4 separate regions of the Homo sapiens genome follow, and regions 2, 3 and 4 are each linked to region 1. The links are contacts of gene promoters, found by promoter capture Hi-C in blood cells and fetal thymus (Javierre and others, 2016). All regions are on one chromosome and are shown on one strand. The core of a region is centred on a gene start or on the middle of the fragment in contact, and the rest is flanking DNA. Distances in the headings are between cores, read along the strand shown. Region 1 holds the start of RARRES2 (retinoic acid receptor responder 2). Region 2 overlaps LOC105375567 (a long non-coding RNA gene). Region 3 has its middle 51 kb from the start of KCNH2. Region 4 has its middle 43 kb from the start of AOC1.

What was found. Contacts are between HindIII fragments. The CHiCAGO score rates a contact against its expected background, and 5 or more counts as called.
Region 2: a contact is called between a fragment that was not itself captured here and the fragment with the promoter of RARRES2 in region 1, in 2 of 17 cell types (total CD4 T cells and non-activated CD4 T cells). The highest score is 5.6, in total CD4 T cells.
Region 3: a contact is called between a fragment that was not itself captured here and the fragment with the promoter of RARRES2 in region 1, in 1 of 17 cell types (total CD4 T cells). The highest score is 5.2, in total CD4 T cells.
Region 4: a contact is called between a fragment that was not itself captured here and the fragment with the promoter of RARRES2 in region 1, in 2 of 17 cell types (total CD4 T cells and activated CD4 T cells). The highest score is 6.1, in total CD4 T cells.

What each region holds. Positions count from the first base shown.
Region 1 is chr7:150,339,512-150,344,924 of GRCh38, reverse strand. It overlaps RARRES2 (retinoic acid receptor responder 2), which reads left to right and starts at 3,296. Exons shown (of 6, transcript NM_002889.4): 1 at 3,296-3,347; 2 at 4,296-4,489; 3 at 4,721-4,825. The coding sequence starts at 4,316. LOC107986858 (a long non-coding RNA gene) reads right to left here and starts at 3,080. Exons shown (of 3, transcript XR_001745420.3): 1 at 2,588-3,080; 2 at 1,284-1,397. RefSeq lists a silencer at 4,188-4,257. The HindIII fragment of the contact is 3,952 bases long and covers 2,076-5,413 here.
Region 2 is chr7:150,868,922-150,873,863 of GRCh38, reverse strand. All of the region lies in intron 1 of LOC105375567 (a long non-coding RNA gene), which reads left to right. Among named protein-coding and RNA genes, the nearest start is that of AOC1, 19 kb to the right of the region's middle. The HindIII fragment of the contact is 8,356 bases long and covers 1-4,942 here.
Region 3 is chr7:150,924,908-150,930,391 of GRCh38, reverse strand. No RefSeq gene overlaps it. Among named protein-coding and RNA genes, the nearest start is that of KCNH2, 51 kb to the left of the region's middle. The HindIII fragment of the contact is 359 bases long and covers 4,015-4,373 here.
Region 4 is chr7:150,892,351-150,897,928 of GRCh38, reverse strand. No RefSeq gene overlaps it. Among named protein-coding and RNA genes, the nearest start is that of AOC1, 43 kb to the right of the region's middle. The HindIII fragment of the contact is 5,633 bases long and covers 1-5,415 here.

The DNA.
Region 1 (5,413 bases), core at 2,047-4,546:
GGACAAGGTTTTGCTCTGTGGCCAAGTCTGAGAGTGGTGGCTTGAGCCTATAATCCCAACACTTTGGGAGGCTGAGGTGGGAGGGTCATGTAGTGGCATGATCATAGCTCACTGCAACCTTGACTTCCCAGGCTCAAGTGATCGTCCCCCGCCAGCCTCCTGAGTAGCCAGGACTACAGACTTTTGCCACCACACTCAGCTAATTAAACTTTTTTTTTTTTGTAAAGATAGCCTCTCTCTATATTGCCCAGGCTGGTCTTGAACTCCTGGGTTCAGTGATCCACCCACCTTGGACTCCCAAAGTGCTAGGATTACAGGCATGAGTCACTACTCTCAACCCAAATATTCAATAATTAAAAATAAAAAAGTCAGTGTTTTCTCACCAATACCACACTACATATAAATGGGCTAAATTTGAATATCCAAGGAGATGAAACCTCATTTGTGACCTAGCCAGATAAATATAAGCATTTCAAATTAAATATTTTCATAATACTGACAAATAATTACAATCTACATACTTTTGTCACAAGAATCAACATACAGAGGTTTTAATTGTAATATACAGCATTGTGTAAATTGGCAAAATTTCAAGAAAAATGTGAAGAATTCTTAGTTGATATTGATAAATTTAGAATGGCTTTTGAATTTATGCAATATCATTTTTGAATTTATGCTAATGGTACCGAATTGACACAAGTTGGAAAATGTACTTAACTTCAATAGGTGTAGTTTTGCAACTGATATGCTCTTACTTCAAAGTCAAATCACTTCTTCTAAAAAAAACTATTTTTGTCAATGTGGTTGCAAATATTAAAGGACAATGTTTTTTGGTACTCAGTTCAGTTATTGGAAAACTAAGCTTGGAACAACTGGATACGTGAGTCTACTTTTTTAGCTGTCATGACCAGGAAGATCATTAACCATCATTAAATAGTGAAGTCCTGTTGTTGCTCCCCTGGACTGGGACATGTTACCTGGAGCTGAGCTCATGAATATGCCCTAAGTAGTCCTTTCACACATCCACACCTATGAGTGCTCTGCAGTAGGACTGTCCACCTCTTTGGGGTGCACCTCACATACCTACACCCAAAGTGAATTTTGTGTGGCCATTTAAGTATAGCCAGACTGGCTCCTTCCTCACCAACTCCCACCACCCTGCTCCCAACCTACCTCCCCACCTCAACTGCCTCACCTCCCCTGCAACAGACCTGATGCAACTTTCCCCCCAGCCCCCACCAAAGTCAGGATGAGTTTCCCGCTTTGCTCAGCTCAAGTCCTACCTTGTCCTGGAAGATTTCTCTCCTCACCCATCCTCAGGACGTCCCCCAGCATGGGTCTGTGGGGGCCAAAGGAAAACTTCCCCTTTGCCTTCTGAAGGTTTGCTGAAAAATCAACTGATGAAAGGCAGATTAATAGAATAAATTGATTCATTTATATTTTAGAGACAAGGTCTTGCTCTGTCCAGAGAGGCTGAAGTACAGTTTCATGATCAGAGCTCACTGCACCTTTGAACTCCTGGGCTCAAGCAATCCTCCTGCCTCGGCTTTAACAGGAAATATTTATTAACATACATGAGAGAGAACCACAAAGTGATTACCCCAACCCCTCAGTGGGATACAGAAGCTTATCCACCATCTTGAGTTTATACAAATATGGGGGCTCAGATAGTGGCAAGACAGGTTATGGAAGGGAGGGAAGAGGAGGCCTGGTTGGCAAAGGGAGTCTTGTTAGGTAGATGACACCTCACAGGTAGCAGCCCTCAGAAAGAACTGAGGGTAAATGTTTCTTTCAGATCTGTAAAGGTGTCAGCCTCTCAGTTAATCTTTCCTAGAGTTAGACAAGGGAGAGCCTCGGAGAAAGCCTGGCTACATCAATGCAGATTTCCTCTACAGATGCAAATCTCTCCACAAAAAGACAGCTTTTTGGTTATTCTATTTCCAACCATTCTGAACAGCCACCTTGAAATGTGTCAAAGAAGTATTTTTTGGGGTGAAATATTTTGGTTTCCTTCAAGTTCTTGGGCTGGGAAACATCTTTGGGTGCATCTTTTCTCTCTAACCCCATCTAAAGCTTTCAGGGAACACGGATCCCATCTCTTTCTGCTTAAGGGCGGCTGAGTAGCTCACAGCTGGGGAGTGAAGTACCCTAAGTAGTGGTGGGATTTCAGACACCTGGAAGTGGTTAATGGAAGCCGAGTTTCTTTCTGGTGCCCCCAGAGCACACTGTAAAGGAAATTCTCAGCTCTAAGTGGAGAATCCTGGTTAGGGGTGCGTAAGTAGGGGACAAAAGCCTTGTGCTCGGCACTGGACATCAGTTGCTTTTCATGTTTCTTCATTTAATCCTCAAAACAACTCCTTAAGACAGAGTTTCTGATCCCCATCTTACAGATAAAGAAACAGAAGTTCAGAGAGAGCCATGAAGTTACATGAGATCCTCTACTTCAGGTGATCCCTGCGGTGTGGGAACCAGAGGCATGGTGTTGGTGGTTACTGACGTGCAAAGTCTCAGAGCTTCTTCATCCTTGCTCCAGCGTACCCAGGAGTCGAGCCGGTATTTGGACAGTTTTCCTTGAGTTTCTGCTCACCTTATGAATTCCATCATGCCGTTCTGCCACACCCGAAGGCTCCCCCACTCCCCATGAGAATCTATCCCACGGAGAATGGGGCACGAGGAATGGTCAGGAAAGGCAGATGCAGGATACACACTGGACATCTTTGCTGTCGATCAAGGTTGCAGGCGCCAGAGTCCTCCCTAAAGGAGAGACCTTCCTTCTCAGTGTGGCTCAGGGAGTGGGAGGCAGGATCAGGTGTAGGGACCTCGAGGTCTCATTTGGTTTGAGAATGTCTGTATTTAGGGGAAGAAATCCCAGGATGAGTGTCTCAGGGACGCTGGGGAATGGTCCCCCGTAAAGGACCCAAGACAGGGCAGCCCTGCCTGGGTAGGAGTGGGGCACAGAAAGTCCTTGGGGGAGCAGAGCAGCGGAGAAGAGGCCCGGGCCGGCCGAGGCTGCGGAATGCTCAGGCCCGAGCCAGAGGGAGGTGGGACCGAGGGCTGCGCGCCTGGGCGAGCCGCCTGCAGCCGCGGCCAGGGTCAGGGTCATGAGGGCTGGATCGAGGGGAAGGAGGGGGGTGGGATGGGGAGGGAGGGCGCGGGAGGGCATCCCGCCCCAGAGGCCGGTCCCACTGGGGAGGGGAGGAGCCAGAGTTGCTGGAGGGGGTCCAGGAGGTGGGGGTGGGAGGAGGTGGGGGCCGCCCCGCGAGAAGAAGAGCGGGAAGAGGCGGACAGCGAGGCCAAGATTTCAGCTGCGGGACGGTCAGGGGAGACCTCCAGGCGCAGGGAAGGACGTGAGGAGGGGAAGCGGGCTGGGGCGGCAGCCGGGCGGAGGGGCAGCTGCGCAGGCGGAATGAGGAACGCCTTTGCTCTAAGGCGACCACCCTGGCAGCTCTTCACTGAGGGGCCTCGGTTTCCACATCTGTCGCTCTCCGGTCCCAAGACCACCAGGACCGACGGGGCTCTCCGGGAGGGTCAGCCCCTCCGGTGGCCCCAGTCATGCATCAGGGGACGGATCAGAAGGGCTAGGAAGAGGGGTCGTGGGGAAGGCCCCAGAAAAAAGAGGAAGGAGGGAAGATTTTGCCTGAAGCGGGAAAGCCAAGGGCTGGGCGGCGCGAGACCCCCATTCCTAGCGACTGGGGCTGGCTGGTGGCCCGCGGCAGCCCCCGCGCCGGGAGGATTAGGCCTCCCGCCGCTCCCACCCGTCCGGACCCTCCCACGTGTTTAGGTCCTCCCAAAAGTATTCGGCCTCCGGCCCCTGCCCCTTCCCCCGGCTGGCCTGGACCTCGGGGACGTGGGGGGAACCCCGTGGGAGCAGGGGGATTCTGGACGGGGAGGGAGTAGCGGTTGGGGAGAAGGCTGAGCGGGGAAAGGAGAGAGGGGCTCCGGGGACGGCAGGGAGGAGAGTGGGTCGTGCCGGAGACCCAGGGAGAGACACAATGGGCAAGATTAGGGGTGTAGGGTGGGAGTGCGAACTGACTGATTCCTAGCGTGGGCAGGGAACTTTGCTAAAACTGCAGGCCCCAGGGAACAGCGCGGGCAGGGTGGGAGGGAACGGAGAGGGCCAGGCGGACCCTAAGGTCAATTTGGAGAAAGGGCCATTTCCAGGCTCCTTCACCTGTGCCCAGCGTTCTACAGGCCTGGACCCCGCCCCCGCTCCCCACCCTCCCCCCAGAGCAGGGCGCGGGAGGAGGCGGCTCGGGCTGGCTCGGAGAGCTGAGGGGCGCACACCCGCTTCGCAGGGCCAGGGTGACACGGAAGCATGCGACGGCTGCTGATCCCTCTGGCCCTGTGGCTGGGTGCGGTGGGCGTGGGCGTCGCCGAGCTCACGGAAGCCCAGCGCCGGGGCCTGCAGGTGGCCCTGGAGGAATTTCACAAGCACCCGCCCGTGCAGTGGGCCTTCCAGGAGACCAGTGTGGAGAGCGCCGTGGACACGGTGAGTAGCATGGCCCGGGCAGGAGCGGGGAGGGTCGTACCCCAGGAGACCAGCGCATTCCCACGAAGGGGGACAGAAGTGCTTGGGCTCTGAGCCCCAGCCCTTTGGAGAAAAGGCCACTGTCCAGCCTGCTGGAATGTGACTGCGTGAGGGAGGTGCGGATCACACCAGGGCTTGCTCTGCACCCTCAGCTGGCTACCGGCCATCCTCTGCCTGCCTGTCTGTCCGCAGCCCTTCCCAGCTGGAATATTTGTGAGGCTGGAATTTAAGCTGCAGCAGACAAGCTGCCGGAAGAGGGACTGGAAGAAACCCGAGTGCAAAGTCAGGCCCAATGGGGTGAGTGAAGGGGTGTGAGAGCAATGGGCGCATGCTGGGTGTGAGTGCATGGACTTGGGGTTTGGGGTGTGGGGCACATGCCTGGGTGTGCATGCATGAATTGGGAGGTCCATTAAGAAGCCCTGAGGTTAGAGACCCCACTGCGAAGAGCCTCCTTAGAGGTGGAGTGGCTCAGCCTGAGCCCAAGGTTGTGAGAGTGGCTGGTGGGAGCTGGGGCCTGGCAGACAGGAAGATGGTTTGGTTACCCCTGGACTTATCTTCATCAGAGCAGGGCTCACCTCGGTCTGAGTTCCTCTCTCAAGCATCAGGGCCTGGGTGGAAGGAGCCGGCTGTGTGGGTGTGTCTGGTGCCCCCCTAGCCTAGCAGGACTCCAGTCATCAGTCACGGTGGGGGCAAACCTTCCACCGTGGGGGTGATGCCTGGGCTGGGAGTGCAGTGACTGTGTTCTAGTTCCCGCTCTGTGAGCACGGCCTGGGCTCTGTATTACAGGTTCTGCAAAGGCCCCAGTTCCCTCTGTCGGCTCAAGGAGGGCACTGGACTATAGCAATGATTCATCAACCTCAAAATCAAATCTTACAAGAAAATAAA
Region 2 (4,942 bases), core at 411-2,910, 530 kb before region 1:
AACCTACTAAACAGTCAGTTTTTTCCTGTTTCTTCGTAATTCCCTTATATTCATGAGTCTCTGAGCTCTTTTTGGTTCTGTTGGTCTGTTGGTCTACTCTTGAGCCAATACCATGATTAAAAAAATTTCCATGGCTTTATAGTGTAACTTAATATTTGATGGGACCAGTCTCACTTCTTTGTCCTTCTTTCTGAAAAATGATTTCACCATTTGTGAACCCATTTTTCATATGTTTTAGAATAAATTCATTAACCCCTAAAAAATTCTGGTTGGGATTTTGATTGGGATTGGAATTATAAAAAACATTTGAGGAGGATGGATATCTTTACAATGTTAAGCCATACTATCAAAGAGCACGGTTTTTTTATTTATTTATTCATATATTTCATTACATTATGGTCTCAGAACATGGTCTGTATGCTTTCAATTCTTTAGAATTTGAGACTTCTTTTAAAATCATTATTTGGTCAGTTTATGTGAATGTTATATGTACACAATATACACATGCATTCTTTGGTTTGTGGAGGGTTATATACAAATATGAGTTTATTAAATGTCTTATTTAGATAATCTATGTCTTTGCTTTTTTTGTCTACTTGATCTATCAGTTCTGAGATTTATGTACTAAAATCAGCAATGTTGTTGGTTTTCTTCTTCTTGCTTGAGATTATGTTGTTAGATGCATATATGTTATGCATGTTGTATCTTCTTTGTCTATTGTTTCTTTCATCAAGATATACTATACCTCTTTCAAGCTGATACAGAAGTAGAGAGAAGGATATAATGAACCCTCTCAAATCCATCATCCAGCTTCAACTACTCATGGCTACTCTTATTTTATCCATACTACACAAACTCTTCCACACCCCTTCTACTGGATTATTTTGAGGTAATGGCAAACATAATATCATTTAAAAAGTAAATACACTAGCATCTATCTATAAAAGATAAGGAATTCTTTTTAAGCATAATCATAATACCCTATCAAACCTAAAGAATTAACAATAATTTCTTAATACCATCAAATATCCAGTGTTCTAATTTTCCAATTGTCTTATAAATATTTCTATTCTCTTTACTTAAATTAGGATCCTAATGAGATTCATACCTTAGAATTAGCTGATATGCTTCTTGAGTTTCTTTTCATCTATAGATATAACATATCTCTATCTCTTTTGATATTTCCTGGCTATGAATTCTATTTTGTTATATATTAGGATGGCTACATTTTTGTAATTAAATTTTTTAAAGATTACAAAAACAATATATGAGTAAATGTTCATAAAACATTAAAACACATATGGAAGTGTGTTTTTTGTTTATATAAATAGAATTCTACAATGTTTATTATTCTGTGACTTGCCTTTATCACTTAACAGCAAATACTGAAACATATCCTTTTTAAAATATCACAGCTTTATTGATATACAATTCACATACTATACAATTTATAGATTTATTAAATCTATTGTCACAACCAATTTTAGAATGTTTTCATTACCTCTAAAAGAAACTCTATATCCAATTCTCCCCAATCCTCCCAGACCATGGCAACCACTAATCTACTTTCTGCCTCTATGGATTTGTATATTATGAACACTTCAAATAAGTAGAATCATATACTACATGGTCTTTTGCATTTGTCTTCTTTCATTTAGCTAATGTTTTCAAGGTACATCCATGTTGTAGCATGTATCAATATTTCATTTTTCCTTATTGCAGAATGATATTCCATTGTATGGATATATGACATTTTGTTTATTTAATCATCAGTTATTGGATATTTGTTTTGTTTCAACTTTTTGACTATTATAAATAATGCTGCTATAAACATTCATGTACAACTTTTTGTATGGACACATTTTCATATTTCTTGGACACATACCTGGGGTGAAATTTCTGTATTCTATAGTAGTCTGTCTAACCTTTTGAAGAACTGCCAGACTGTTTTCCAAAGTAGCTGCACTATTTTATATTCCCACCAGCAATGTATGAAGTTTATAATTTCACCACATCCTCACCAACACTTGTTGTTATCTGTCTTTCTGATTACAGCCATCCTGGTGGGGATGAAGTGGTATCCCATTGTGGTTTTGATTTGCATTTCCCTTATGACTAATGATGTTGAGCAACTTTTCATGTGATATTGGTTACTATGTATCTTCCTTGGAGAAATGTCTGTTCAGATCCTTTGCCCATTTTTAAATTGGGTTACCCATATCAGATATATGATTTGCAAGTATTTTCTCCCATTCTGTGGGTTGTCTTTTCATTTTCTTAATGATATCCTTTGAAGCACAAAGGTTTCTACATTTTGATGAAGTTTATTTTATCATTTTTTTCTTTTGTTGCTTGGGCATTTGATGTTATATCTCAGAAATCATTGCCTAAAATTGGCAAGGTCGTGAAGATTTATGCTTACATTTTATTCTAAGAGTTTTAGCTGTTACATTTAGGTCTTTGATTCATTTTGAGATAATTTTTATATATGATAAATACTAGGGTTCCGGTTTCATTCTTTTACATGTGTATATCCAGTTGTCCCAGCACTGTTTGTTGAAAGTCTATTTTGCTATTGAATTGTTTTGGTAATCTCATCAAAAGTCAACTCTATATGTGAGGTTTTATTTAATTAATGTATTTATTCTGAGACAGGGTCTCACTCTGTCACCCAGGCTGCAGTGCAGTGGTGTGATCATGGCTCCACTGCAGCCTTGAACTTCTGGGCTCAAGCCATTCTCTGCCTCAGCCTCCCAAGCAGTTGAGACTATAGGTGTGCACAACCATGCCTGGCTAATTAAAAAAAACCTTTTTATTTTTTTTTTTGAAGCGACAAGTTCTCTTTATTTTGATCAGGTTGATCTCAAACTCCTGGGCTAAGCGATCTTCCTGCTTCAGCTTCCTAAAGTGTTGGGAGGCCAAGTTGGGAGGCCAGGTTCCTAGGAGAATGGGCCCTGCAGCACACACAAGTGCATGATCATTCTGCCAGTCCCTGCCTTTCTAGGCCTGGGAAGCTGGGGACTGGAATGCTGTTGCCACTCCTTGACCTCGCCTGCAAACACAGCAGCATCAAGGGCAGAAAGGCAGTTTCAGTATCCCTTTCATCTTCCAGATCTTGCTCAAATGCTCCTGATTGGTAGAAACTAATTCTATACAGAGCTTTAGATATAAAACAATCTGGGAAATGGAGAGTTTAACTTTCTAGTTGCTGCAGAACAGGAAGATACATTAGGAGGGAAATATAATAGAGGTTAAGGAAGTGTCCATCATATTTCCCATGAGTCCAGTGACTTGGGAAATGGCTGTTCTCAGTCCTGGTGAGACTGTCTAGAATTCTGTGTCCATTTCTTTCCCTGAAATGTAGAGATATAGAAAAGATTTGTATTGTGAGCTAAATTGTGACCCCCTCAAAAGATATATTTGAGTCCTAATCCCCAGTTCCCATGAACGTAACCTTATTTGGAATTAGAGTCTTGCAGATGTAATTGAGTTAAAATGAGGTCCTACTGGAGTAGGGTGGGCCCTAAACCCAATGACTAGTGTCCTTATAAAAGGAGAAATGCAAAGACACAGAGACACCCAGGCAAGCCAGCCATGTGAAGAGGGAGACAGAGATCTGAGTGATTCCTGAGCTATCCTTTAAACCATCACCTGTATCTGTATTGCCTCTCAATGTACAGCCAGGCCAGCAGCTACAGGGAACTCAGAATATTCAGGCTGTGCTCTCAGTTCCCCCCTACCTCCTACTTATTTCCATACTTCCTTTCTTGGGGACAAGTTTCCATCTCAGCAGGGGCTCAGTGAAGGCTGTGGTGATATTGGGATGCTGGGTTAGGATCATGGCTGGGGCAAAGACCTTTTTTTGATACAAGGTCTCACTCTGTTGCTCAGGCTGGAGTGCAGTAGTACAATCACGGCTCACTGTAACCTCTGCCTCCCGGGCTCAAGCAATCCTCCCACCTCAGCCTCCCAAGTAGCTGGGACTACATGCATGCACCACCAACGCAGCTAATTTTTGTATTTTTTGTAGAGACTGGGTCTTGTCATGTTGCCTAGGCTGGTCTCAAACTCCTGGGCTCAAGCTATCTGCATGCCTGAGCCTCCTGAAGTTCTGGGATTACAGGCATGAGCCACTGCACCTGGCCTTGGGGCAAATACTTTGAAACCCAACTAGAAAACCTAGTCCAGATCCTGCGTGGGCAGCAGCAAGTCAATAGAACACAGGTCATTCACAGTGACACAGAGAGAGGGGACAAATTCCAGCCTTTCCTGGATCTTTAGGATGTCCCTTACTGTCTGTAACTTTTCTGAGCTCAAGTGCACAAGCTCTATGATTGGTCTTAGAGCTTAAACACCTGTTACAACACTACTGTTAAATGTCACCATCAAACTCAGCTATTGACATCCTAAACTATTGCTCTGGGCTCAGAGAAGGGACAAGAAACAAGTTTTTTTGTACACGTTAAGAGTATAGCCAGGCATGATAGCAAGTGCCTGTAATCCCAGCTATTCGGGAGACTGAGGTAGGAGAATCGCTTGAACCCGGCAGGCGGAGGTTGCAGTGAGCCAAGATCGCATCATTGCACTCCAGCCTGGGCAATGAGAGTGAGACTCTGTCTAAAAAAAAACCAAAAAAAAAAAAAAAAAAAAAAAAGTGGTGTTTTCAAACCTGGCTCCTCTCTCAGAATGATCTTTAGAGCTTCCCAAAAACACAGTATTCAGGACCACCCTTGGATATTCTGATATGACTGGTGTGGCACGAAGCAGCACAACACTGGGATCCTTAAGAAGCCTCTCTAGGTGACTCTGGTGCACAGCCAGGGTTGACACTGCTGGGATAGAGAAGGGCAGCAAAGAAAACATAGAAATGGATGCTGAGAAATAAGCATCACAAATCAACAGAGGGCAACGGGGTGAGAACTAGGGGCAGTAGGAACACAGG
Region 3 (5,484 bases), core at 2,945-5,444, 580 kb before region 1:
ATAGAGACAGGGCCTTGCTATATTGCCCAGGTTGGACTTGAACTTGTGGGCTCAAGTGATCCTCCTGCCTCATCCTCCCAAGTAGCTGAGGATACAGGTGTGCACCACTGCATCCAGCTTCATATATTTTTGAAATAGTTTTCTTTATTTGAACCAGAAACCAAATAAGATCCATACATTGTAACGAGTAGATATGACTCTTAAGTACCTTTTATTCTATGGGGTCCTCCTCCATATTTTTCTTTGTGTTTTGTTTTGATTGAAGAATCTAGGTTGTTCATTCTTTAGAGTTTTCTACAATCTGAATTTTGCTGATTGTATCCTTATGATATGGCTCAACATTAGAGGGGACCAACAGGTCTTGGTTTTACCCACTGCTAAAACCAAGAAAGTCCTGAGCAAACCAGAATGGTTGGTCACTCTGCATTTTTCTCTGTCACCCGTATTTCTCATAAGTTGGTAGTTAAACCTAGAATTTTTATCAGACTCAGGCTTCAATTTTTGGCAAGATTATTCCCTAGTTAGTGATGTATTATTCCAACAGGAGACACAGAAATAGCTGGCTGCCTCTCTTCTTGTGATTTTAGCAGCTATAAACGACGGTTGCTTAAACCTATGAATTCATTACAGGTTGCAAAATAGTGATGTTCTAATTCTGTCTTCCTTTTTCATTTATTAGCTGGAATTCTCTTATAGTGAGAAATGAACTCTCAGCAACTCTTTGGTTACCCAGAGGTAAAGTTCATATCGTAAAGGCAATATAAACATGCAGTTCATTCCCTTTATTTGCTACCTTTCAAAATATGGTTCTCTGACATCTCCCCAAAGTGAAGAATGATATTCCTCTAGTGGTACTGTAAACTCATAGGCTGGAAAAAAAAAACAATGTATTTCAACACTTCCCAGTTATTATCCTTATTGATCTCACATGTTTCCATCTTTGGCCAGTGGGAACTTATATTCAGGTTGGTTCCTGAGTTATTTTGACATGACCCTGGTAGGTTTTTTTTTCCCCCCAAACACAGCTTTATTGAGCCGTCATTGACAATCAAAGGATTGCACATATTTAACGTATATAATCTAATGAGTTTGGACATATGCAAATGCCTGTGATAGCATGTCCACAATCAGGGTGAAAGATCCAAAACCTCCCAGAGTTTCCTTGTGGGCCCTTGTGTGTGTTAAGAGTACTTAGCATACAAACTTGATAGCTTCCTTGTTTTATGATATTACAAGATGTTCCAGACCAAATCATTTTGTACCTTTCCTGTCCTGATCTTGGAAACAGCCATTTCTCCGATGAGTCTCGGTTCTTTTTAATAGGAAATGTATTTATAGCTAGGAGTTCTCATTACTACTACTAGATGGTCTGGGTCCTTTCAATGGCTATAGCTAGGAAATAAGCATTCCTTTTAAGACATTATATAATGTGTTCATGCTGTTGTCACTAATTCTAATTCAGAACTGCAGAGTTTTAATTTAACCTCATGGATCTTACATCTTTATCCCCTTTTCCCCACACTGAAAATCCTGACTCTTCATGGCACCAACATCATTACTCATTGGCTTTATCTCACAACAAACACACATGCAATAGTCTCAGAGCAGTAATACCAACCACCACAACTAACACTATGGTGACTGGAAATCTCTTTGTGATATTTTTGAAGTTCTTTTTGTCCTTAATATATCCCACTAGGGACGTATAGTGAAATTACTGTGTTTAAGTCGGTTGGAATAATTCCTTCTTGCATGGTTATGTTCCGTAATTATGGTTCATTTGTGTAATTTCCCTTTTCATTTTTAGGACTTGCATTTTAAGTTTAATTCTAAAGTTGAATCTACAAAGCAAAGTATATTCAAAGAAGTCTCATTTCTATGCCTGTCTACTCCCCTCCTCTCCCATAGATAACTGTTAAGGTATTTGTGTTTGTCCTTTCAACATTTTTTAAAATAAGCAAGTGTATGTATGTATGCCTCTAGTTTCCCTACTTGTGTTTTTTAGATGAATGAAATGTCCATACGTACTTTTTTCTTCCTTGCTTGATCCACTTAGTATCTGGAGAGGAGTCCACATCAGTAAGAAGAGACACGCCTCATTCCCTCACAGCTGTGTAGTATGTCATCATTTGGATATAGCTGACTCAAACGGTCCCCTGGTGGTTGCCATTTGTTTCCAGTCCTTTGTTGTTATTACAAAATTCTGCTACAATACATAGTCTTGTGCATACATCCTTTCATATTTTTGCTACTATATCTTTGGGAGGAATTCCAAGATTTGCTGGGTCAAAGGTCAATGCATATGTAATTTTGTAAGATATTGCTAAAGTTCCCACCAGCAACGTGGGAATACTTCTTTCTTTAACCTCGCCAACAGACTATGCTGTCACACTTTTGGATCTTTGCCCAATTTGATAGATGAGAAATGGTATCTGTGTCTTTTTAATTTATATATTTCCATCACAGGTTGAATTCCCTGGGAGCAGACTCTGAGACAGAGACTGGAAGGAGGGAGAAGAGGGAGGACTGGGTAGAGGGACAAGTCCGCCTGTGACTCAACCTCAACAGAGAGCCCAGCTGAGCCCACAGTGACCTCTAGGGCTGGCAGGGCCCTTCAGAGAGGCTGCGTAGGAATGATGGGCCTGGCTGTTCTATCCCCGTGTTAATCCATCACTGAGTGTGGGCTGCTCCGGAAGGAGGTGTGACCTTTGGTGAGGCAGTTTTTTTCCTGCCAAGGCAAATCCATGGGAGGGCGGACAGCAGAGGGCCATCCTCTGGTGGCACTTTCCATCATAGGTAGGGATTATGACATTTATTTCAGAAAGACAATCTGGGTGACACATCACGGCATCCACCCTCATTGCTTAATTTACCTATAATATCTACTTTAATGATTTTGTTTTCTACATACTATCTATCTATCTATCATCTATCTAATCTATCTATGTATCTATCATCTATCAATTATCTACCTATCATCTATCAATCACCTTTCTATCTCTGTTATCTATGTATCTATGTATCTATCTATCTATCTTATATCTATCAATCATCCATCATCTATCAATTTTCTTTGTATCTATCAATCAATCATCCATCTATCTCTCTCATCTCTCTCTTCTATCTATCTATCTATCTATCTATCTATCTATCTATCTATCTATCTATCTATCATCTATCTATCTCTATCATCTATTTATCTATTTATCTAGTTGATTTGTCTTGGATTGAGACAGGTGTGTTAAATATTCTTATTTTTTTTTAAAACAACATGTTTCTGTATATTTCTCCTGTCATCTCTTATATTTTCTGCTTCATGACAGTTGTTGCTAAGCCACTGCCATATAAGTGGCACCTACTGTTAGATCTCCATCATGATTGCAGACTTTGGGATTCTGTAGCCTCCTTCTGTGTCTCATTTAATGCTCTCTGGTCTGAATCCTGCCTTGTTGGATATCAAGATGGTGACTCATAATTTCTTTTAATTTTTATTTGCCTGTTGTATCTTTCAATTATACTGAACATTTTGATAAGCTTTTATTTTTAAACTTTTGCAATCTCTTTGTATTAGTATTGCCTCTGATATATAGTATAATATTGGATTTTTCCTTTTTTGCCAATATGGATACCTTTTTCTTCTAACAGCTGAGTTAAGCCCCATTATATTGATTGATCTGATCTATGTGTTTGACCCCAGTTGTCACATTGTTTTATTATACATATCATTGTATGCACATATCTATGTCTATATCGATATATCAATGTGATCAATTTTTTTAGCTTTCTTTTGGTATTTAGAAGGTTTGAATTTTTGTTCTAATAAATACCTTTATTCTAATACCTTTATATGACACTTTTAGCTTCCTAGTTGTGGTTATTTTGTATTAGTTCCCTACTTCAAGCAAGATTAAAATTGGTTAGTAATATCTTCTCCCTCCCTTGTCTGCTCCAGCATATATTCTGAAGCGATACTCTTTGAATTTCTGTTTCTACCTATAAGGCAACCAGCAAGCTTGTTTTACTTTTTATCTACTTTCCCCACTCTCTCCCCTGTTTTCTTTTTCTCAAGGGATGCGGTCTCTCTCTGTCATCCAGGCTGGAGTGCAGTCGTGTGATCAGAACTCACTGTGGCCTCGAATTCTTGGGTTTATGTGATCCTCCTGCCTCAGCCTCCCGAGTAGCTGGGGACACAGGTGCCACCACCATGCTGGGCTCCCTCCTGGATTTTTGACTGTTGTAATCTATCTACAGTGTCAGAACACAGCCCTCACCTTCTACATGACCGCCCTTATAATTATCGTTTCATCTTGGCACTGAACTTACAGCCAGTCCTTGTATGAACGGCTTTCCAGTCATTTGTGTTGTTTGAAGCTTGTTCTTTAGTGGATTCTTCAGTAAAAGTGCATGAGAGTGACACTCCCTGAGTTCTCCAACATTTGCAGACATAACTAAGATCTGTCAATAGCCTTTCCACTTAAAGGTTGTCTTGGCTCACATTGTCTTTCCTTGAGTACTTAAAATATTTTACTTCACTGTCTTCTGGCATAAAGCATGGCCATTGAAAAATCTAAATGCAACCTAATCTTTCCTCCACTTCCTTCCATAAGTAACTTGGTCTGTTAAACTGGACATCCAAAGATTTTTTTCTTTTCAAAGTGTGTAGTCCCACAAGCATATGTCCCTGTTGGTGATCCTGTGACGACTTTCCTATTGTACAATATGCTTCCATATCCATTACAGTATGCAGTTTTAAGTATCTTTATTTCAGGAAAATTCTAAATTTAGTTTTCCATATTATTCTGTTCTGTGGCTTTTGTTTTCTTCTTGGGGATTTTTATTATATGAATACTTCATCTTCTTAGTCCACCTCCTGTTACTTTCTCTTGTATTCTTTTCATTGCCTTGTTCATACCTTTTAACTAAAACTTTTTTCTTTTTTCATCCTTTATTTCATTTAAGACATTATCCACTGTGTCTATTTGCACCGACAGTTCTTCTAACTTAGACTTCATTTCTAAAATAATTTTTATTTCACATCTGAGTCTCTTCTGTCTTTTCATACTATTGTTTTATTTCCTTATTTTGGATCTTTTCTACTTCTGACTCATGCTGGTCTTCATAGCATCCATCACTTTGTGTATTTTTGTTCATTTTGAACTATGAAGGGCCAGTGTTGGTTTGTGCTTTGGCCAAGTCATTCTGGTTGGTGAGCCTTCATTGTCTGCAGGATAGTATTTGGCTCCTCATCGCTTTTTTCTCAAATTAACTTAGAATGATATTTATGTGAAATTATTTCCCACTGCTCATGCTTAAGTAAAATGAATTTTCTGTACTTTTAGGGAAGAAGGTTGGGCTAGGATAACTTTTTTTGGACTTTATGACTCTAGAGTCTGATTTCTGTTCTTTCACTCGGGGTTAGAAGATACGAACCCCACATTCTGAGCACTCTCTCTCCTTTGATCTCCTCCTCACTTTAAACTGGGC
Region 4 (5,578 bases), core at 1,350-3,849, 550 kb before region 1:
GAGGCCAAGGGTTTGTAGGTGTTGGTGAAGAGAAGGGGCCCCCAGGCTAGGTGAGGGGACCTCAGTTACCTCCCCCTTTCCCAATCATCCTTTTCTGAGGCCACCTTCAATTGCTACCCTATCCTAAAAGGCCTCGAAAAGCAACAGGCTCTGGTGTCCCGACATCTTCTGGTTTCCTCTTCTTTCTGTGAAACAACTGAGTCTCAGCTTTTCTCATTTGCATCCCCACCTGGCAGCTGAAGAGCCGCAAACAAAATAACACCTGCTTTACATGAAGGGGAAGTGACTTGGGGCTGGAGTGAGAGGTGGGCCCGGGTCATAAGTCCTTGTTTGTTTTCTTCTTTCCTTACACTGCTTGGTGGGTTCTTCGTGGTCCTCCGCAAAGAGGGTTTGGGAATGGCGGGTGTCTCTCTCACTCGGAGCCAGCCCCTGTCTCTCTTCTGCACTGTTCCTGAGCCTGGGGTGGGTGTCTGGAGCGAATGGACTGGATTCCTCCCCAGCCCCAGGGTCTCTGTCTCTGGTGAGGGGCAGGTGGCTGTGTGTTGAACAAGCCTCTCCCTCCTCTGATCCACAACCAAACACATACAGGGATGTCCCGGGTAACTCTGGGAGTGTCCCTGTCTCTGGCCCTGCATTCTGGGGTCTGTGAACTGCAAATTGCTAGATGGAGGGATCTGCCTACCCCAAAGGGGAATTTCCAGGGAGAGGGATCTGTCCACCCCAAGGGGTGTGGCCAGGGATCCTCCTCCAGGAGATGAACCCCACAGACATGACTTTGGGTCCAAGCACCATCAATGCCATTTCCTGGGGCTGCATGGCTGGGAACCAGTTTGCCGACCAGTCGGAGCTAGATAGGGAGGGGGCAGGGCCGAAGTGGAGGTCTCCCCCTTTCCTTTCACTGCCTTTCTACATGCGGTGCTGGTCCTGGATCTGTTGTCCTGAGACTCTACACTTGTCCTCTCCCTCCTCTGCCATGTCTTGTGGGGACAGACCCCTGCAAGTGGTATCTCCCACACTTCCAGGTTCCACCCATGGGAGGCCTGAGCATGAGACAGAGGGGGCTGGACCTTCTCTCCCTTTCTCTCCAGCTGCGACAGACAGGCCCCCAGGGCTCCCAGCTTCCACTGGTGACCCGGCTGCAGGGTCTGGGAACTCCACGCCCTCCCTCTGCCCCTGCCTCTCTGGGCATTGCTGTCTCTGGAGTACCCACCCTGTTTATCTCTTAGTTCACCCATCCTCCCAGCTTCCAGTTCCCTGAAGTCCAGTGTCTCCGTGCTAAGTCTCCCAGCAGTCCCTGATTCCCAACCCGTGTGTCTTGCTGGATCTTCCTTCCCCACCTTAATCAGGCTGGCGCAGATCCCACCATAGTTTTTTGATTGTGTTTGTGTGTGAAACAGGTCTGTCAAGTTCAACCAACATCTGACATCCAGTTCAGTTTTGCCTCTCCTCCCAGCTCTGCTGGACCCCAGGTCCAAGGCTCCTACCCTGGGGAGGGGCAGGTCTGGCCGTCCCCTCCTCTCTTCCTCTCCCACACCTGCTGATGCTCCTGGGGCCAGGATGGAGGGGAGGGGGCTTGGAGGAAAAGTGGCCCCACTGGCGTGGCCATTTTTGCTTACATGGACCCTTGGGCTCTGGGTGGCTGATATGCAACACTGGCTCTTCTGCTGGATGCAGGTGTGTGTTCTTCCGAGCATCATGGACCTGGACCTGCACAGTGCCCTGATGACCTGTCCCCTGCTGTCCACCCCACAGCCTCTAACTGCATAGTTCTCCTCGTCTGCCTGGCTGCCCTCTTAGAAGGGGGTGTTACTGGATTCCTGTGGCCACCACCACAAGGTGCATAAACTGGGTGACTCAAAACAACAGAAATGTATTCTTTCATGGTTCTGGAGGCCAGAAGGTCAAAATCAAGGTGTTGGTAGGGCCACGCTCCTTCTGCAACCTCTAGGGGAGCATGCTTCCTTATCCATCTGGCTTCTGGTAGCCCCAGGTGTTTCATGGTTTGTGAAAGCATCACTGCAATCTCTGCCTCTGTCTGCATATGGGCTTCTTCTTTGAGTGTGTATGTGTCTCTCTGTGTCTTCTCTTCTTCTTATAAGGACACTGGCCATTGGATTAGGGTCCACGCTACTCTAGCGTGACCTCGTCTTAACTGATCACATCTGCAAAGACCTGTTTCCAAATAAGGTCACAGTGATAGGTACCAAGGGTTAGAACTTCAATATATCTTTTTGGAGGACACAGTTCAACCCACAACAGGTGCAGACACACCTTGGAAATATTGTGGGTTCACTTTCAGACCCCGCAATAAAGCAAATATTGCAATAAAGTGAGTTATAAAAATCCACTGGTTTTCCAGTGCATATAAAAGTTATGTTTATATTATACTGTGGCCTATTAAGTGTTCAATAGCATTATGTCAAAAATACAATGTACATACTTTAAATTAAAAAAATCTTTATTGCAAAAAAATGCTAACAATCATCTGAGCGTTCAGTGAGTCATCATCTTTTTCCTGGTGGAGGGTTCTGCCTTGGTGTTGGTGGCTGCTGACTGATCAGGGTGGTGGTTCCTGAAGGCTGGGGTGGCTGTGGCAATTTCTTAAAACAAGAAAACAATGAATTTTGCCACATCAATGGACTGTCCTTTCATAATATATTGCCTTGTAGCATGCAATGCTGTTTGGTAGCATTTTACCCAAGGTAGAACTTCTTTCAAAATTGGAGTCAATTCTCTCAAACCCTGCTGCTGCTTTATCAACCAAGTTTATGTCATATTCTAATTTTTTTGTTGTCGTTTCAACAATGTTTACAGCGTCTTTACCAGGAGTATATTCCATCTAAGGAAACAGGCAGGATGTGGTGGCTCATGTCTGTAATCCCAGCCTGGAATCATCCCAGGCCTAGGTGGAAGGATCACTTGAGGCCAGGACTTTGAGACCAGCCTGGGCGACATAGTGAGACCCTGCCTATATATAAAAAAAAAAAAGAAAGAAAAAGAACCAGGCATGGTAGCATTCACTTGTTCTAGCTATTTTGGAGGCTGAGGTGGGAGGATTACTTGAGGAGCTTGAGGCTGCAGTGATTCATGATTACATCACTGCACTCCAGCCTGGGCAACAGAGCAAGACTCTGTCTCAAAAAAGAAAATAAAAAAGAAAGAAGAAACTGTTTTCTTTGCTCATTCATAAGAAGCAACACCTCATCCATTCAAGGTTTTTTTTTGTTTGTTTTGTTTTGAGATGGAGTCTCGCTTTGTTGCCCAGGCTGGAGGGCAGTGGCACAATTTCAGTTCACTGCAACCTCTGCCTCCTGGGTTCAAGTGATCTCCTGTCTCAGCCTCCTGAGTAGCTGGGACTACCGGCACATGTCACCATGCCCTGCTAATTTTTGTATTTTTGTAGAGAAGGGGTTTCACCATGTTGGCTAGGCTGGTCTTGAACTACTGACCTCTGATGATCCGCTCACCTCGGCCTCCCAAAGTTCTGGGATTACAGGCTTGAGCCACTGCGCCTGGCTGCCAGTCATGTTTAGTCATGAGATTGCAGCAACTCAGTCACCTCTTCAGGCTCCCCTTTTAATTCTACTTCTCTTGCTATTCCCACCACATCTGCAGTGAGTTCCTCCATTGAAGTCTTGAACCCTTCAAAATCATTCAGGAGGGTTGGAATCAATTTCTTCCAAACTTCTGTTAATGTTGCTATTTTGACCTCTTCCCATTAATTACAAATGTTCTTAATGGCATCTAGAATGGTGAATCCTTTCAGGAAGGTTTTCAATTTACTTAGCCCAGATCCATCAGAGGAATCACTATCTACGACAGCTAGAGCCTTACAAAATGTATTTCCTAAATAATAAGACTTGAAAGTTGAAATTGCTCCTTGATCCATGGGCTGCAGAATGGATGTTGTATTAGTGGGCATGAAAACAACATTAACTCCTTGCATGTCTCCATCAGAGCTCTTGGGTGATTAGGTGCATTGTCAATGGGCAGTGATATTTTGAAAAGAACAGTTTTTTTCTGAGCAGTAGGTCTCAACAGTGGCCTTAAAATATTCAGTAAACCATTCTGTAAACAGATATACTGTCATCCAGGCTTTGTTGTTTCATTTATAGAGCACAGGTAGAGTAGATATAGCGTTACTCTTAAAGGCTCCAGAATTTTCAGAATGGTAAATGAGCATTGACTTCAACTTAAAATCACCAGCTGCATCAGCTCCTAACAAGAGAGTCAGCCTGTCCTTTGAGGCTTTGAAGCCGGGCATTGACTATGAATGTCTCTAGTTATGAAAGTCCTCGATGGCATCTTCTTCCAACAGAAGGCTGTCTTATTTACTTTGAGAATTTGTTGTTTATGTAGCCACCTTCATCATTGATCTTGGCTAGGTCTTCTGGATAACTTGCTGCAGCTTCTCTTTGCACTTTGATGTTATGAAGATACCTTCTTTCCTTAAACCTCATGAGCCAATCTCTGCTGGGTTCAGACTTTTCTTCTGTAGCTTCCTCAACTCTCAGCCTTCATAGAATTGAAGAGAGTTCGAGCCTTGCTCTGGATTAGACATTGGCTCAAGGGAATGTCGTGGCTGGTTTGATCTTGTATCCAAACCACTAAAATTTCCTCCATATCAGCAATAAGGCTGTTTGCTTTCTTATCATTCATGTGTTTACTGGAGTAGCACTTTTAATTTCCTTCAAGAACTTTTCCTTTGCATTCAAAACTTGGCTAACTGGTGCAAGAGACTCAGTTTTTGGCCCATCTTGGCTTTTGACATGCCTTTCCCACTAAGCTAAACCATTTCTAGAGCTTGACTTAAAGTGAGAGATATGCAACTCTTCCTTTCACTTGAACATTTAGAGGCCATTGTAGTGTTATTAATTGGTCTAACTGCAATGTTATTGTGCCTCGGGAATTGGGAGGCCCAAGGAGAGGGAGATAGATGTGAAATGGTCAGTGAAGCATTCAGAACACACACAGCATTAACCGACTGAGTTCACCGTCTTACACGGGCATGGCTCACGGTGCTTCAAAACAATAACAGTAGTAACATCAGATCACAGATCACTAATCACAGATCACCCTAACAGATATAATAATAGTGAAAAAGTTTGAAATATTGCACAAATTACCAAAATATGACCCAGAGACACGAAGTGAGCACTTGCTTTTGGAAAAATGGTGCTGATAGACTTGCTCCATGCAGGGTTGCTGCAAACCTTCAATTTGTAAGAAATACAATATATGCAAAGCGCAATAAAGCAAGGTGCAATAACATGAGGCATATCTGTATCTTCAAGAGGTCCACAGGCCACTTTCTCTGGAGTTTCCCGTCATCCTTGTCACTATAAGAGGTGGGTGTAGGCTATTCCCACTGCCTGGCCATCTCAGGCTGCTTGGCTAACCGGCCACCTTCAAGCTTCTGGCAATAAGTAGGCACCAGTCTCTAAATCCATGTATGTGCCAAACTTGTGGGGTCCATGGCAAGCTCCAGATAGGAAGGGCCTGTGTGTTTCCACAACCACTCAACAGGTAGCCGGGGTGTGGGGTCCTCTCCCATGCCCCTTCCCCAGGCAGGTGCTGC